2 separate regions of the Homo sapiens genome follow, and region 1 is linked to region 2. The links are contacts of gene promoters, found by promoter capture Hi-C in blood cells and fetal thymus (Javierre and others, 2016). All regions are on one chromosome and are shown on one strand. The core of a region is centred on a gene start or on the middle of the fragment in contact, and the rest is flanking DNA. Distances in the headings are between cores, read along the strand shown. Region 1 holds the start of PDSS2 (decaprenyl diphosphate synthase subunit 2). Region 2 holds the start of FOXO3 (forkhead box O3).

Region 1 (4,343 bases), core at 861-3,360, 1.1 Mb after region 2:
TGAATTGCTATTGAGGAAATTGCGTGAAAAGTTACCCTTAAGGTACCATGAGGCTGAAGAAACAGCCTCAGGTGCACAATATATCACATTAGTCTCTATCTATCTTTGTATTTTCATGACTTCTTTCACCTTGGATAACCCAGAAGCTCTGGCCTTGGAACTTTTTGGAATGGTAAAGTATCTCACTCTCCATATTTATTTTCATCTCCTGGAATGGTAAAGTATCTCACTCTCCATATTTATTTTCATCTCCTAACAGACCTGAATTTTGTTGCCAAGAGTTTATCTCTTTCACAGGAATTATTTTCAAACTTCAGCTTACTTACTTTAAGGGCATAGACTGTGTTTGATACTTATAATCACAATTCATGTTAAATAAAATGTGCCCCTGAAAAGTTACACCTAAACTGAATTTTTGTAAATAAAAAATTTAAATCACAAGGAAAACTTGCCAAAGGGAGAGTATGAAGCTAAATCTTTTGTAGAGAAAATCATCTTGTTTTGCAAAGTGAACAACTACTCTTTAAGTCCCAATCTTTATTTGTAGCTCAAGAGGCTGGTACAGTATTATGCATGATGCTCATTTAAAAAATACTGACAGGCTGGGCATGGTAGCTGGTAGCTCACACCTGTAATCCCAGCACTTTGGGAAGCCGAAGTGGGCGGATCACTCGAGGTCAGGAGTTTGAGACCAGCCTGGTCAACATGGTGAAACCCAGTCTCTACTAAAAATACAAAAGTTAGCCGGGCGTGGTGGCAGGCGCCTGTAGTCCCAGCCACTTGGGAGGCTGAGGCACAAGAATTGCTTGAAACTGGGAGGCGGAGGTTGCAGTGAGCTGAAATCGCGCCGCTGTACTCCAGCTTGGGTGACAGAGCAAGACCCATCTCAAAAAATAAATAAAAAATAAAAATAAAATACCATGAATTTGGAAGGATTTTGAAAGTTTTAGAGAGTTTTATAAGCTATTTTTAAGAGTGTAAAAAATGGATAATATATCCTTTATTAAGAACGGTTAACACCTGTTTTAGGTGATAAGAAAGGAGGTAAGATCTTAGGCACATTTGAAAAAAAAATAGGTAGCATTACTTAAAAGATAATCATATTGACTGTTTCCTCTCAGCAATAAGGAGAAAAGAGTGGATGGGAGCCTATTATTTAGACGGTGTAATCTTTCGGTTAGAATACGGATTCTGAAACCAGATTGTCTGGGCTCACATCCCTGTCTAGTGTGGTCTTAGGGAACTTACGCGACTCGACTGCACCTTAGTTTCCTCATACAAAACACGGAGAATACTAATATTATCTACTTAATGAGGTTGTTCTGAGGATTAAATAAAGTAATACATGAACTAGTACGTGAAAAGCACTCCGGTCAGCGATAGTCTTCAATCCTGGAGTTGAGCTCCAGGCTAGGCATAAAGAGGAAGATAAGAGGCAGGGAGTAGGCAACGTTTCATTCTTCCTCTCCGCACCCGCGGGAAGGAGGCACCGCTGTTTCTCCCAAGGCTCAGCGAGGAGGCCGGTAATTCGAAGTTGGATCCGAGGACTTTCCTTGGGACCCCTTTCCGCCGCACCACGCTGCCTTATGTCTGGTTGGGCCCTGAGGACACGAGGGCTCAGCCCCACGCCCCGACTAGGCGTTCCACCACTGAGACGTGGCCCCAGCTCCAGGAGGCATGCAGCCCGAGAGGCCGCCTTCACGCCCGGCCACGGCCACTGCCACTGCCAGGGGCTGGTGGCGATAGCGACAAAAAGCTTCCGGGAGGAACTGGTGCCTCCGCCCGACGCCCTTCCTTGCGGGCAAGCCGGGGGCTGACCGTTGTTCGTGACACCAATACTTATGCATGCCACTCAGTGCTGGGCGCCGGGGACTCTAATGAATCCAGACTCGGCCCAGATACCGTGTGCAGAGGGACCACTCGCCGCCCACAACTGATCCCTGTCACTGACGACCTTTGCTGGCCCAGAGCGGCGGGGTGGGAGGAGCTGAACCTCCCAACCCGGGTTCACCTCCAAAGCACCGCCCCTGCGGGGGCGTTCTCGGGTACGCCGTAAAGTAGAGAGTATACTTAACAACCCGCCTCTGTCTTTACGGCAGGCCGCATTCCATGCCTCCAATATGGCGTCCTCCACATAGGCAGTGGCTGTGGTTTCTACCCCGGGTGGCCGGGGGCAGTGCTGAGCTGGGACTGTTGTTTGCCCAGCCTGGGCTGCAGAAAGCAGCAGTTAAAGTTCGTTTCTGGTCACTGCTCCAGGAAGCCACCTTACTCTGAGGGTCAAGAATTGCCGCTTCCTTTTAGTTACTGTAAGTTCCTCCTCTGCCCCTGGTTTGTTTCCCGCGGCACTTCTGGATACCCCCAGGTCCCAGACCCTTCCAGACTCAAACCATGAACTTTCGGCAGCTGCTGTTGCACTTGCCACGTTATCTTGGAGCCTCGGGTTCCCCGCGTCGCCTGTGGTGGTCCCCGTCCCTCGACACCATCTCCTCGGTGGGCTCTTGGCGTGGTCGGTCCTCCAAGTCCCCGGCCCACTGGAATCAGGTAGTGTCAGAGGCGGAGAAGATCGTGGGGTACCCCACGTCCTTCATGAGCCTTCGCTGCCTGCTGAGCGACGAGCTCAGCAACATCGCTATGCAGGTGCGGAAGCTGGTGGGCACTCAGCACCCTCTGCTTACCACAGCCAGGTGAGCTACCCCTCTCCCGCTGACACACTCGCACTCATTGGAATACTTTTTTTTCTGGCGGGCATACGCATTCTAGCTCTCTCAGACTGGCTCCTGATTTATCTCTTTTTAGTCCTTCCTTTTTACTCACTCCTCCTAGACATTCCGTGTTGTCTCTTCTCTAGTCCACTTAACGTTCTTGCTCAGCTGAGTGCATAAGTGGTTTTCTTTGAAACACTTGTATGCTTTCCTCGATTTTGCTTCTTAATTGTTGAGGATGAAGATGCCTCAGTGATTTGTGGAGAAATCGAGCGGAGATGTAGGTTTATTGAGTCACTTCCTAGAAATTTTTTTTTTTTTTAATGGGATAGATTAATTTTCTGTCCCGCACTGTTCAGGGGGTCACCTCCAGAAAGTAGGCAAGGAGAGAGAGAGAGGCTGAAGGTAGATAATTCTTTCCAACGAATGTCTTGGGGTTGAAGTAGGAATTTATCCCGTTAGTAGTCATTATCTTCTTGGGATGTTTATCACTTATGCTGTACTACTGCTGTGAAACCTGCCTTTAGGATTTATAAAAGTTTTTTTTTTTTTTTTTTTTGAGACGGAGTCTCGCTTTGTCGCCCAGGCGGGAGTAGCTGGGACTACAGGTGCCCGCCACCACGTCCGGCTAATTTTGTTTTTGTATTTTTAGTAGATACGGGGTTTCACCGTGTTAGCCAGGATCGTCTCAATCTCCTGACCTCGTGATCCACCCGCCTCGGCCTCCCAAAGTGCTGGGATTACAGGCGTGAGCCACCGTGCCCGGCCAAAAGTTTTTTTTTTTTCTTCCACTTAAACCCCACACCTGAATTGTAATTAGTTTAAACATACAGCGAAGTTACAAAAATAATATAGTTCAAAGAACACACTTGCATACTCTTTAATCAGATCCACCTGCTACGTAGATATGTCTATATATGTCAATATATACATTAAATACATATACACACAGATATATATACTATTCACGTGTATATATCTTTCTATATATTTTTTTCTGAATCATTTGATGGTAGATTGCATACATCACGATCCTTTTCCCCTAAATACTTCAGTATGTATTTCCTAAGCATAGCAGTAATCTCCTACGTAAGTACGCTACAGTTACCAACTTAGGTATATTTAATATTGATACAATACTTTTATTTAATCTACCATTTAATTTCAATTTTGTTAATTGGCCTAATAATGTTCTTTATAGCATTCTTTACCCTCCAGGACAGGATTCAGTCCAGGATCAAGTATTGCGTTTAGTTGTTATATCTCTTTCATCTTCTTCAATTAGGAACATTTTCATATCTCTTCTTGGCTTTTATGACTAGAGCACTGGTTCTCAACTGGGGCAATTTTCCCCCCCTGAGGACATTTGGCATGTATGGAGACATTTTTGGTTGTCACGAATGGAGGCACATTACTGGCATTTAGTGGATAGAGGCCAGGGATGCTACCCTTCAATTCCCAGGACAGACCCACAAGAAATAATTAGGTGCTGCAAAATGTCAGTAGTGCCAAGGTGGAGAAATCCAGGACTAAAAGGACCTTTTTCTATTGTTGTTTTTAAAAGTAAACTTCTATTTTGAAGTAGTTTTAGATTTACATGCAGTTGGAAGAAATAACACAAATCTAATATACACCTAACCC
Region 2 (4,347 bases), core at 1,191-3,690:
CCAAATATAAGACTCATAATGTAAGCATTTGTTAAAAGAAATGAGACACATTAGTGGATTAATATCAAAGCACACGTGTTTTGCTTTTAAAGTATCTAATACAAAGCCTCTCTGATATAAGCCGTATTTAACTTTGCAAGGGTTTTCTAGAAGCAAAATAAAACATTCTCTACATTAAGTTCTTTAACTTTTTCATCTACAGGCTCGTCTCCAGTGCTTCCATTGAATTCTCCACTAAGATTAAACTGTTCTTATTTTTATACCTCCTGAAACCCAGGAAGACAGAGGGCTCCCCAATGACAATGAAGAAAGGGAAGGAGGAAGCAACTACTTCTTTTACATAAAACAAAACAAAAAAAAATCTAAGCTAAATTGCAAATATGGGCAGCTGATAAGAGATGTATATCTCCAATCGCACAGGACTCTTTGGCCTGGTACTGACACACACTGTCTTGGGGGAAGGGGCCAGGGAGGTGCCTAGGAAGAGGAAAGCAGCTGGATATCAGCAGCCCAGCAGGGGCAGAGGAGTTAATCTCTTTGGATACCCAACTGCAGGAAGTCATTACATCATAGGCCTTTCCACACCTCTCTCCCTACCACGTGTCCCGTGCCCCAAGAGGATGATAAGGAACGGTAGAGAGTCTCTCTTCGGGTTCATTTACAGGTAGAAGCCATTACGGCCCGGCCCAGCCCCCAAACCTCCTCCCAAACGCCAGAGTGAATGAAGCGCAGGCCCCGCGTCCCCCACACCAGAGCCCTTCCCTCAAACAGTGCCTGAATCCAGGCCTCGGCGGGAGCAGCGGGTGCAGCCAGTCTGGATTGAGGTGGCCAGACCGGCCGGTTCGAGGCCCCAGAACATTTCAGAAGCAGCTAGTCAGAAGCAGGTTTACTGGAGCGACATCTCCGAGAAGAAAAGGTATCAATATAGGCAAGGAAAGGAAGCCGTCCAGGAAAAGGTTTGCAACCACTGCTTTTTCTAATCGGATCGATGTGCCTGTAGGTGTTAACACCCACAAGCTGAAACTTGGACCCGAAGGTTCTCATTCAGCTAGTGACGACGCAACATGCTCCTGCGACAGACTGGAAACCACACATCCAACCCCTCCTCCAGACACTGCGTCCCAAACACCCCCACACCTCTCACTCCAGCCACAGCGCCCGCACCAGACCCCCACTACGGTAAACTCTACTCCAAAGTTGGCTGCGGACCTACCTCCTCGGTGCTGTCCGGAGAATCCAGCAAATGTACTCCTGTCCGTTCGCCCTTCCCTCGCCGGCGTCCCCTGCCCCCTCTCCTCACCTGGCCATGCCCCAAGCTTCTGGGGAGCCTCATTCACCCCTCCGAGACCGTCCCCAGGTGCCCCGACTCCGGGGATCAAAGATAACCCCCAAAGCCTCGCAGCGGAGGCTCCCCCTGCCAACCCCTTGCCCTGGAGCCCGCAAGCGCACTCCGACGAATCCGAGACGCGTCTCGCGCTGCGCAGGAGGCCCGGCGGGTCCTGCTGCCAGCCCGGGGTGGGTACGCACCTTCCAGCCGGCAGAGCTGTTGCTGTCGCCCTTATCCTTGAAGTAGGGCACGCAACGCACCATCCACTCGTAGATCTGGGACAGAGTGAGCCGTTTGTCCGGGGAGCTCTCGATGGCGCGGGTGATCAGGTCCGCGTAGGACAGGTTTCCCCAGGCGTTCCGCCGCGACGAACATTTCCTCGGCTGCCCGGAGCCCCCAGCCGCCCCCGGCTGCGGCGGTGGCAGCGGTTGCTGAGGCTGCAGCAGCGCCTGTGTACCCCCGCTCAGCCCGCCCGCCGCGGTGGCTGGCCCAGACCCGGGGTCTTGCCCTCCGGGTGCCAGCACCCGGGCCGAGTCCTCAAGGAGCAGCCCGGAGCCCAGCGTGCCGCTCCCGCCGCCGCCGCCGATCGCCATGGCCGAGCCGGCCCGTCCCCCGCCGTCCTCGTCGTCTTCATCGTCCTCCTCCTCGGGGATCATGGAGTCGGCGGCCGTCTCCCCCGAGGGCTTGGCAGGGCTCGCTTGGAGCTCCGGCCTTTGCAGGGGCCACGTACAGGATCGCGGACGGCTCTGGGGCTCGAACTCCGGGTCCAGCTCCACTTCGAGCGGAGAGAGCGGGGCCGGGGAAGCCGGTGCCTCTGCCATCTTCGCCGCCCGCCCGCCCGCGGCTGGGGCTCTCGCGCTCTCCTCTCGCGCCGGGGCGGGGTGCAGCGGGGGAGGGACGTGGACGCCGCGAAGGCTCCGGCTCCCGGGCGCCGCCGCCGCCGCCTGGGGAAGCACCAAAGAAGAGAGAAGGAGAGTTGGTTATCCCGGGCCGGAGCCCCGTCCTCGGCGAGTCCTCGCCCGCTGCCGCCACCTCCCAGTCCTGCCGCGCCCGCCTCCCAGGAACAGGAGGACCTGAAGACGTGCGGCCAGCGAACCTGGCGCAGCAGACACCGCCCCCCGGCCAGGCCGCGATGGAGCCGCGAGCGAATCGACGGCCTCGCGCGGGGCAGCCCCCTCCCCCCGCCGCCCAGCCGCAGGTCCCTCCCGGGCTAGGCGGCGGGGCGGGGAGAAGGGGGAGGGGCGCCCGGGGGAGGGGCGGCCGCGCCTTTAAAGCGGGCAGCGGCCGGAGCTGGCGCAGCCGAGCCGCGGTCAGAGCCCGAGCTCGGGTGTGCGTGCGTTTGTTTATGTTTCGCTCGGGCCCGCTCTAGTGCCTCCCGCGGCGCCGCCGCTCAAGTCTGTGCTGTCTTCGGCTCTTCTCCCCTTTCCTAGCCTGGCCGCCTCCGCGACCCCCCGTCACCCCCCACCCGGTCGAATGGCCCGAGCCCGGGGACTGCGCGGGCAGCTCCCTCTCCCCTCTTCGCCCGCGGGCCAGAGGGCGAACGGGGGTCTGGGCGCAGATGGGCCCTTGTCACTTCCAAAAAATAAAGGAAAGACAGAAAGAAGGGGGAGCAGCAGCCCAGCGGGTGTTCGCAGAGGTTCGAGCCCGGCGGGGACGGCCACTTCGGGGTTTTGTGTGGTTTGCATTCTCGCGGACGTCGTCCCCTCCGCCCCCTTCCCAGTCGGGATCCGGGGGAGGGAGCGAGTCGGAACATAAATCTTCCAACAGGTCGGGAAGCGCCAAGTCTCCCGGGCTGCTAGAAAACCCGGACCAGCACGTTCATCACCTCCTTGCTCCCGCTGCTGCCATCTTGACAGTTTCCCCCTTCCCGAGTCCTTTAAAAACACTAGCGGGCGAGAAGGGGGGCGCGCACACCGCGGCTCAGGGAGGGGAAAGGGAAGCGCCCGGCCCAGCTCGGAAGCAGATCCGGAGTCACCGGGAAGGCGGCCGCCCGCTGCACGGCTCCGGCGCCTACCTCGCTTCCTTCCCTTCAGGGACGCGGCGGGACGACGCACGATCCCGCGCGGGCCCGGGGCACGGCGAGGAGGGGGCGCGCAACCTCGGCGAAGGAGAAGCGCTCGGGCCGTCGCCGCAGCCCGCCCGAGGAACCGCCTGTCAGCTCGCGCGCCGCCACCTTCCACATTCCTCCTCCTCCCTTCCACGAGCAGGGCGGCCGCGGCAGCAGCACAAAGTTATAGACACACGCAGGGCGCCTCAACCTAGGCTGACGGCGGGCGGGTCCCCGCCCAGGGGGAGGGCTGGGCGGCGGGCTGGGCGGCGGGCCGGGCGCGCGGCGGGCGTGCGTGTGTGAGTGCGCGTGTGTGAGCTCGCGCGCGCCTGCGCGGCCCGGCTCCGCGGGGCTGCGGGCGTGGGTGTCCGGGCGCGCGCCGTGGGCCGGGACTCGGCGGGCTCCCGCTGCTGTCCCCGCTGGGCTCCTCCTCCCTCCCGAGAGTCTCAACGACAACAAAGCGCGGCGCTGGCCCGGGAGAGGAGGGAGAAGGGGGGAGAAGGGAGGAGAGGAGGAAGAAGTGGGGAGAGGAGGGAGAAGGGGGAGCGGCAGGAGCGCACAGCCCCCGACGCTCCAAGGAGCGCAGCGGCGTGGCCTCCCTGACTCCGGGCAGGGCGCCTGGTACCAGGGGGTCCCTGGCCTGCGCGTCCGCCCGCCGGGCTCTGGGCCAGCCCCGGTGTCCGGTTCCCTGTTAGAACGCGACACCAGGTAACACCCGAGATAAGATGCTGGCCGCAAGATGGGCAGGGTTATCGCGGTGTGGAAATACTGAACGGCGAAGATGTTGGTGCCTGCACAACTTCGATAAGCTGATGCTCACAGATTCGATCAGGCACCAAAAGGTTTGCACTGAGTCTCTCACCTCGGACGGTGGACCACAGTCGTGTTTCACTTTTCATGGGTTTCATGGCAAACGGGGGAGAGGTGTAACTAACTCCGGAAGAAATGCAAATTTACCCCCGTCCTACATTCA

Evidence for each region. The method cuts DNA at HindIII sites, captures the fragments that hold promoters and counts their contacts. A CHiCAGO score of 5 or more calls a contact.
Region 1: a contact is called between the fragment with the promoter of PDSS2 here and the fragment with the promoter of FOXO3 in region 2, in 2 of 17 cell types (total B cells and fetal thymus). The highest score is 9.4, in total B cells.

The regions. Positions count from the first base shown.
Region 1 is chr6:107,457,331-107,461,673 of GRCh38, reverse strand. It overlaps PDSS2 (decaprenyl diphosphate synthase subunit 2), which reads left to right and starts at 2,110. Exons shown (of 8, transcript NM_020381.4): 1 at 2,110-2,684. The coding sequence starts at 2,389. RefSeq lists enhancers at 1,148-2,069, 1,790-2,239. The HindIII fragment of the contact is 2,928 bases long and covers 1,759-4,343 here.
Region 2 is chr6:108,559,010-108,563,356 of GRCh38, reverse strand. It overlaps FOXO3 (forkhead box O3), which reads right to left and starts at 2,440. Exons shown (of 3, transcript NM_001455.4): 1 at 1,528-2,440. The coding sequence starts at 2,148. RefSeq lists enhancers at 357-651, 1,463-1,963 and silencers at 2,407-2,626, 3,606-3,675, 3,716-4,075. The HindIII fragment of the contact is 5,662 bases long and covers 1,319-4,347 here.